2 separate regions of the Homo sapiens genome follow, and region 2 is linked to region 1. Evidence: promoter capture Hi-C in 16 types of primary human blood cells and fetal thymus (Javierre and others, 2016). All regions are on one chromosome and are shown on one strand. The core of a region is centred on a gene start or on the middle of the fragment in contact, and the rest is flanking DNA. Distances in the headings are between cores, read along the strand shown.

Region 1 (3,924 bases), core at 676-3,175:
ACGGGTAGCTCGGAGTTACCGGGGCTGGGGAGGAGCGAGGCTACTGCAGTAAGCCAGCCGGAACCCATTTATGACTCCGCACTCTGAAGTTCAGGACAGGGAAGCACCCACCTCTGGAACTCAAGCAGTGGACGAGGGAGGTCCCGAGCGCCGTCGCAGCGCTGCGAGTGTGGGACCCTGGCCTTCGCCCGCTCTCAGGGGACGAGAGCTGCCACCTGTATCACGGGAGGCCCCGCCTCCGCCTGCACCTTCTCCTACCAGGAAACGAGACGGCGCGGGCCTCGGGCTCCTCTCCCCCCTCCCGGGAGCTGAACCCCCACTGGGAAAGCCAGGTCTCCAGCTTCCCTTGACACGCGTCTTGAAAGGTTACCGGATTTGTACCCGGAGTGGGTTCTGCAGGGATAGGTGCATGGTTGCCCGTTTCACATCATGAATATGAACGGGGCTGGACACCTAGAGCCGAATTATTAATACTTCAGACAGAATTCTGTTCCCAAGAACAAATCGCTTTGAGATATAAAACCCGAGAAAACTTCACCTCTGGCGCTTTTCTCTCTAAAATGTCAACAAGACCCAACAACATACTGCCACCGATCTGGTGGCTGGGGGGTGATGGTTGGGGTACGAGCCTCTGGGCAGACCAAGCTGAGGTGGAGCAGGGAGGTTGTTTGGGAGCTTGGTCAAGTCAACACACTCCAATACAATGCCAAAAGCATGAGCAGAGGGAATGGGGTCAGGGCGCAGAACCTGGGAAAAAGCCTGCGTGGCCCGATTTAAGAAAATTTTTATTAGGCATGCGGATAGATGCTTTTCATTTGGGGCCCAAGGCAAATAAAAGGAAATGGGCCCCAGCTCTGGAGGATGTTCCAGCTTCGAACTAGCAGCCAGGACCAAACCAGACATAGCATTCAGAGTTGACAGAAAAAGAAGCGGGCTCCATTGTGCCTGAGTTTCCTTGCGGGGTCCCCCAGCTGCTTTGCGCGCGATAACTGCGTCCTGGGGAGTGACTAGGTGGTTGGGCGTCCAGCCCCTGGCGTCCGGCTCTGCCGCGCGCGGGGTTCCTCTCCGGAAGGTGGGCAGCGCGGCGGGTTTGGGACGAGCGTGCACCCGGGCTCCGGCCCGGAGAAGGGGGGGCTCGCAGGATTTCTCCTGCTGTTTGCACTGAAAGTTGTGTTGGCTCAGGAGCTGCTTTTCCGGGGATCTGCAGTTGCCCCCGCCACCTCCTGGCTGCGGTTGGCAGGTCCCTCCCTCAGCAGTTCGTCCTCCGCCTGCGCCGCGCCCTGGGCAGCTCCGCGCCCCGGGCCTCACCTCTGGCCTCCTTTCGCCTCCCTGCACCTGGCCTTTTCGCTTGACCGTTCAGAACCTTCGGCTTCGTTCCCTGCAGCCGGTATTCTCCGAGCCCCCCTGCACCTCTCAGTTACCTCCAGTGGGAACCCCTCCCCCCAGCGACTCCGAGCCCTTTACCTCTCTGAGCCCTTTCCCCGTCTGGCCTCGTCTACCCTCTGGGTGTCAACCGCCTCTTCCCTGCCCCTCACGTCTCCCCCTCCTCCTCCCCTGCCCTCGCCTCTCCATTCATCCAGCCATTGTCTCCCGCCCCTTCCTCCCCCTCCCGAAGCGGCCTCCTCCCCCACCGCTGCCACGTCGTGGTTTGAAGGAGCCAATGGGCCGGCGCCGCCAGGTGTCTCTTACCTGCACCACGTGGGGGAGGGGGAAGGGGCGGGCAGGTAAAGCCACATCCCAAAACAGAAAAGCTTTCAGCCATTGCGTGCCTCCCGGGGGGGGCAGCCTTGCTCCAGGCTTTTTGCATAGACGCCCGGGCAACTGAATACAAAAAGGGCAGGCCTCCTGCGCCCTCCTTCCCACCCCCCTTCCTGCCCTGGGCGTGGAGCACCGACCAGGTGTGGGCTTGGGTGGTTGGTTACCGCCTTTTGCACTAGCAGTAGCAAGGAAGGGGGGTGGGCGCTCTTTCTTTTTCTCTTAGAAGAGGGTTTAGCACAGGTTTTTTCGTTCTCACTTCCACACCACCTTACCGCCTCCCGACCCCCCCTCTCCCCCTCCCCACCTATCGTCATGACGGCCTCTCCGGATTACTTGGTGGTGCTTTTTGGGATCACTGCTGGGGCCACCGGGGCCAAGCTAGGCTCGGATGAGAAGGAGTTGATCCTGCTGTTCTGGAAAGTCGTGGATCTGGCCAACAAGAAGGTATTTCTCCACATTTTCGTCTAAATGCAAGGAATGGGGCAAGAAGTTTGTGGTAGAGGTTTGGGCGGGGAGGGGGGTGGAGGTAAGTAAATAAGTGCTCTTGTTTGCCCACTTGTGAGTCTGGACCCGAGGCCTAGGGAAGCTAGAGTAAAACCAAACTTATTGGCCAACTGCCTTGGAGCCATTTCAGTCCTCCGCAACTTAGCTCAGGTGGAGAGGCCGGCGCTACCGAGCCGGGTTCTTTGCCCGTCGGGGGACGCTCCGCCGAGACGAGGTGGGGTCTCGGAGGCCCCGGGGTCCACTTCCAGGGCTTTTCCGACCTATCGGGTGGGGGGTGGGGCGGGGGGCAGGAACGCACCGGAACCGATGGCGAGTCGAGAGCTTTGATTCTGCGTCCGGACCCCAAGAGAGGCGCGGGCCGCCCCAGCAGGGGAGCGAGGGAGGAGGGTGCAGAAAGAGGCTCCGAAATTGGGGGAAACTGACCCGTGCTTCTCTACCTTCGGAGGTGGGACAGTTGCACGAAGTGCTAGTTAGACCGGATCAGTTGGAACTGACGGAGGACTGCAAAGAAGAAACTAAAATAGACGTCGAAAGCCTGTCCTCGGCGTCGCAGCTGGACCAAGCCCTCCGACAGGTGACAACCCCGGGTCACGCCACCCACCCCAGCCTGGGCCCAACCCCACCGCACCCTACGCCCTCTCAGGGCGGCCCACGCGTGTTCCCGGAGCAGGGTGGCGAGACGCCTGCCCGGCCGCGTGGGTGGGAGCCCAGCCTGAGGGCCGGGGCGCACCGTTTGGGCGGGGGTCGCTGCTTCTCTTCATCTCCCAGCCCCCAGGGTTTGGGACCGACATTCACTAGTTTTCGAGTTGCTTCCTGAGTAGTTACTGGAGCCGGAGAGTCAGCTCCATTTTGCCAATTGATTGACGTGCGGAGTTTGAATCCTAGCGCCCCCATCTCCAGGTCCAGACCCCAGACGCGCCGCTCCCCTGCGGGGTTTGGGCCCACAGCCTTCGGGCAGGGGGCGCTGTGGCGTAGACGTGCAGGTGGGCCCGGCGGGTGTGCAAGAAGTAGCACTGTGGGTTGGAACCTGAAGGTGCCTGCCTGGTTTCAGGCTTCTGAACTCCCAACGAAAGGCTCGGTCCGTCATTATTTCTTTAGTGGCCTTGGTCCCACTGCCAGGGAGGTTTTTCAGGTCCGAACGTGCAAGGCTGCCCGTTGTGTCACTGCGGAACTGATGGAATCCCCTTATTAGGACTGAGGTGACCTAAAAACCGGCTGTTCCGGGGTGCTGACGGGTGCCGGATCGGGTAGGGCGGGGCGCTAAACACCTGTGCACAGATGAATGCTCTGCGTTCTCACGACCTCTGCCCTAGCACACGAGCTTCGAGTTATAGGAGAAAGCTATCCTTCCTGGGGTGTATTCATCCAAGACTTTCCAGATCTGTATACCCAATACCCGTATTTGTTTATTAGAAGCTGGCATCTTTCTTAAGCCTGGCACATCCAAACATATAAAAAGTAACACTAGGGAATGATGTAATCTGCAGGCAACCTGCTGATGAAATGAGACATCTGACTTAAGTCTTGAATGAATTTTTTTTGTAAAAACAGAAGGGAGAATGCATTGACAAGTTTCTCCTGGGCGCGAACTGCGGATTGATTGGAAAGCTTCCCTACCTCGAGGAAGCTAGACGGTTCGTGGGAAAGGAGTCTGTCCAAGGT
Region 2 (3,924 bases), core at 725-3,224, 650 kb after region 1:
AGACTAGGAAGTCTCTTAAACTGTTCATTTCTATAATGGTAAACAGAGGTAGTGATACTTGGCTTAAAGAGACCTTAGATGTTATTGAGAACCAGTGAGATGAAATGTAAAAAAATGGTAACTGCCTCTTCAACATTGAGCAGCAGACTTGGAGCAGATTTTCATTATAATAGGAAAAAAAAATCACATGAGTGCACCCCATAGTTGTAAAAATGTCAGGCCAGTAGATACCTCTTACTCCTGGGGGAATGTTATTAGGGGATTTTTGTTTGTGCTCTGACAAAGGTGGCCCCCTTACCATAGCCCTTGGTGTATAAAACTAGTCCTGAGTAAGGAATTGGACAATTTTGCCAAGAGGGCAAGGAGTCCCTGGAAGGAAAGGGATAAAGTCCTTGGCCCTTCTCTTGTGAGGGTTAATGTCATTAGATACTGATGTATTGAGATGAACTGGACTGAAGTTTGTTGGAAAGAACACTAACGGGGCTAGATTGGAGTTCACCATGGGCATGTCCGGTTTGGTGATCTGAATTCAACATTGGTACTTGGTCAGCATCTCATGGGGAAGGATAGTTCCTTCTAGTAGTTGGCTGAGGGATGAACCTCCACACCAAGCCAGCTGGGCACAGTTTCACTGAGGAATGACAACTGAGCAAGTGCAATGACCTAAAAATACAAGTGAAGACATGACTGTGACCTGTGAGCAGCAAGGACATTTCCAAAACAAGGATGACTGGCCATTGGGCTAGCGAGACCAGTGTTTAGTATGCCTATGAGGTAACTACCAAAGCAATGGTGCTGGTGGGTTCATAGAACTTTCTAGTTATTTCTCCCACCTGGCATTTGGAAGTGTAATTGACCCTTTAGAAGTGAGAAAGGCCCTAGAATGTTGGATCGTCTGGAGATAGAGTATTGGGAAAGGCCCCAAGAAAGGAATACCAGATTTTCTGTTGGTAAGGTCCTTGGGCCTCAGCAAGTCACTAGAAAAATAAGTGAAACACTATTTGTACTCTAAGCTGGTGAAGTATACATCCTGGTTAATAATAATAGCCATCATTTATTGGGCACTGTGTGTCTGGCATGGAGACTGTTCTTTGTCTACCAAAATTGTTTTCTCTTTCTTTCTAGGCCTGTAACGAGACTTCATTTCACAGCCTACTTTGCATTAGATGTGTTCCTGTGACCACATTCAGAGCAGATATACTGTGTGGCATTTCTCGGTGTGGGCCTCAGGGCAATAAAAGGATCTCCTCCATGCTCTCCTCCACTGCTACTGGTTGGAACCCCATAGTAATCCAGTTTTGACCAGGCAGATGTGAGCAATGTCCTGGAGGATGATGAGCAGCACAAAGGAAGGAACCTTGGTACCTGAAAGACCATGTGGAGCAGGGCTTCCCTGTTACCCTGAACTGCTACCCTGGAACTGTTATGTGAGAAAAAATAAGATTCTTGCATTTCTCCAACTATAATGGGCACAAGAATCACCTGGGGATTTGTGACAATGCAAATCCTGATTAAATAGGTCTTGAGTGGGGCTTGAGATTCTGTATTTCTTACAAGTTCCTAGGTGGTGTTCATGATGTTGGTCCAGTATCTACAGTTTAAGTTCCTCTCCAAGAAATTCTGATTTAACTGTTTAGAGTGGGGTTCAGGGACATGATGCTAAAAGAAAGCCCCAAATACCAAAAACCTTTCAAGGTGATTCCAATCTACACCAGGGTTGAGACCCCACTGGAGAAGAGAAACATTTTCTGAGAATGGAAGGATCCAGTTCCTTTCCTGATGTCCTTTGGAGGAGGCAATTCCTTTGAGTTCTTCCAAGCAGCCTTGCCATCCTACCGTCTCATTAACCTCTTACAGATAATGCTTTTTGTTTCTTGTCTGCCTCTGCTGATAGTACTTGTCGTCTTCTTGAAACTTCATTTCAGCCAGAAACTTTTTTTGACATATTGATTTGGAATGTTGAGCTTTGTTTTTGAGTAAAATAATTCAACATGGTGATGTATAGAGAAGCTGATTATTAGCTGTTCCCAAGATCTGCCTTTGGGGACCATATTTGAGCATTTAGTCTTAAACACTATAGCAGCAGCCTAACTTGAGGTTTCAGCCTTAAAACAGACAGACACTCATCATTACTGACAGGGATGTTGTAATAATTAAACTATTATTTTGTGCAGTTTCACCTGAAGGTTGCAAAGCCTTAAGAACATCTGGTGGCAATTTGTTAGTTATCACATTATTCTGCATTTATTAAGTGTTGATAATGCACTAGGTGTTGTACAGAATGCAATCCCTGCTCCAGAGCCAAGAGAGAGGGCAAGTATGTCCCAACAAAGAGAAGGTGAGGCTTACAACAGTTGAGGATTTTTCCTAAAAAATCCCTTCTACCTAGGTTAGTTGAAACATTGTGATTTTGGAGAAAAGCTCTCATTTGTATAAGTTGTCTCTAGTTTACAAAATACTTTTAGATAATCTAATTTATTTATTTTGAGAAAAAAATAAAAAACTCTCTTGCCCAGGCTGGAGTTCAGTGGCACAATATAGCTCACTGCGGCTTCGATCTCCTGGGCCCAAGGGATCCTCCCACCTCAGCCTCCTGAGTAGCTGGGATTACAGGTGCACACCACCATGTCTGGCTAATGTTTTATTTTATTTTATTTTAATTTATTATACTTTAAGTTCTGGGATACATGTGCAGAATGTGCAGGTTTGTTACATAGGTGTACACGTGCCATGGTGGTTTACTGCATGCATCAACCCGTTATCTACATTAGATATTTCTCCTAATGCTATCCCTCCCCTAGCCCCCCACCCCCAACTGGCCCCGGTGTGTGATGTTCCCCTCCCTGTGTCCATGTTTTCTGCTTGTTCAACTCCCACTTATTAGTGAGAACATACGGTGTTTGGTTTTCTGTTTCTGTGTTTGCTGAGAATGATGGTTTCCAGCTTCATCCATGTCCCTACAAAGGACATGAACTCATCCTTTTTTATGGCTGCATAGTATTCCATGGTATATATGTGCCACATTTTCTTTATCCAGTCTATCATTGATGGGCATTATGGGTTGGTTCCAGTCTTTGCTATTGTGAATAGTACTGCAATAAACATACGTGTGCCTGTGTCTTTATAGTAGAATGATTTATAATCCTTTGGGTATATACACAGTAATGGGATTGCCGGGTCAAATGGTATTTCTGTTTCTAGATCCTTGAGGAATTGCCACACTGTCTTCCACAAATGGTTGAACTAATTTATATTCCCACCAACAGTGTAAAAGTGTTCCTATTTCTCCACATCCTCTCCAGCATCTGTTGTTTCCTGACTTTTTAATGATTGCCATTCTAACTGGTGTGAGATGGTATCTCATTGTGGTTTTGATTTGCATTTCTCTAATGACGAGTGATGATGAGCTTTTTTTCATATGTTTGTTGGCCACATAAATGTCTTCTTTTGAGAAGTGTCTGTTCGTATCCTTTGTCCACTTTTTGATGGGGTTGTTTGTTTTTTTTTCTTGTAAATTTGTTTGAGTTCTTTGTAGATTCTGGATATTAGCCCTTTGTCAGATGGGTAGATTGCAAAAAGTTTCCCCCATTCTGTAGGTTGCCTGTTCACTCTGATGATACTTTCTTTTGCTGTGTGGAAGCTCTTTAGTTTAATTGGATCCCATTTGTCAATTTTGGCTTTTGTTGCCATTGCTTTTGGTGTTTTAGTCATGAAGTCTTTGCCCATGCTTCTGTCCTGAATAGTATTGCCTAGGTTTTCCTCTAGGGTTTTTATGGTTTTAGGTCTTACATTTAAGTCTTTAATCCATCTTGAGTTAATTTTTGTATAACATATAAGGAAGGGGTCCGGTTTCAGTTTTCTGCATATGGCTTGTCTGGCTAATTTTTAAATTTTTTGTGGAGACAGGATTTCACCATCTTCCCC

What was found. Contacts are between HindIII fragments. The CHiCAGO score rates a contact against its expected background, and 5 or more counts as called.
Region 2: a fragment that was not itself captured here is called in contact with the fragment with the promoter of ESRP1 in region 1 in 1 of 17 cell types (neutrophils); the score reaches 5.7 in neutrophils.

What each region holds. Positions count from the first base shown.
Region 1 is chr8:94,639,249-94,643,172 of GRCh38, forward strand. It overlaps ESRP1 (epithelial splicing regulatory protein 1), which reads left to right and starts at 1,926. Exons shown (of 16, transcript NM_017697.4): 1 at 1,926-2,202; 2 at 2,708-2,836. The coding sequence starts at 2,071. It overlaps LINC02894 (long intergenic non-protein coding RNA 2894), which reads right to left and starts at 219. Exons shown (of 1, transcript NR_034034.1): 1 at 1-219. RefSeq lists an enhancer at 3,264-3,353. The HindIII fragment of the contact is 2,119 bases long and covers 1,750-3,868 here.
Region 2 is chr8:95,284,743-95,288,666 of GRCh38, forward strand. All of the region lies in intron 1 of CFAP418-AS1 (CFAP418 antisense RNA 1), which reads left to right. Among named protein-coding and RNA genes, the nearest start is that of TRS-AGA2-5, 17 kb to the left of the region's middle. The HindIII fragment of the contact is 5,016 bases long and covers 1-3,924 here.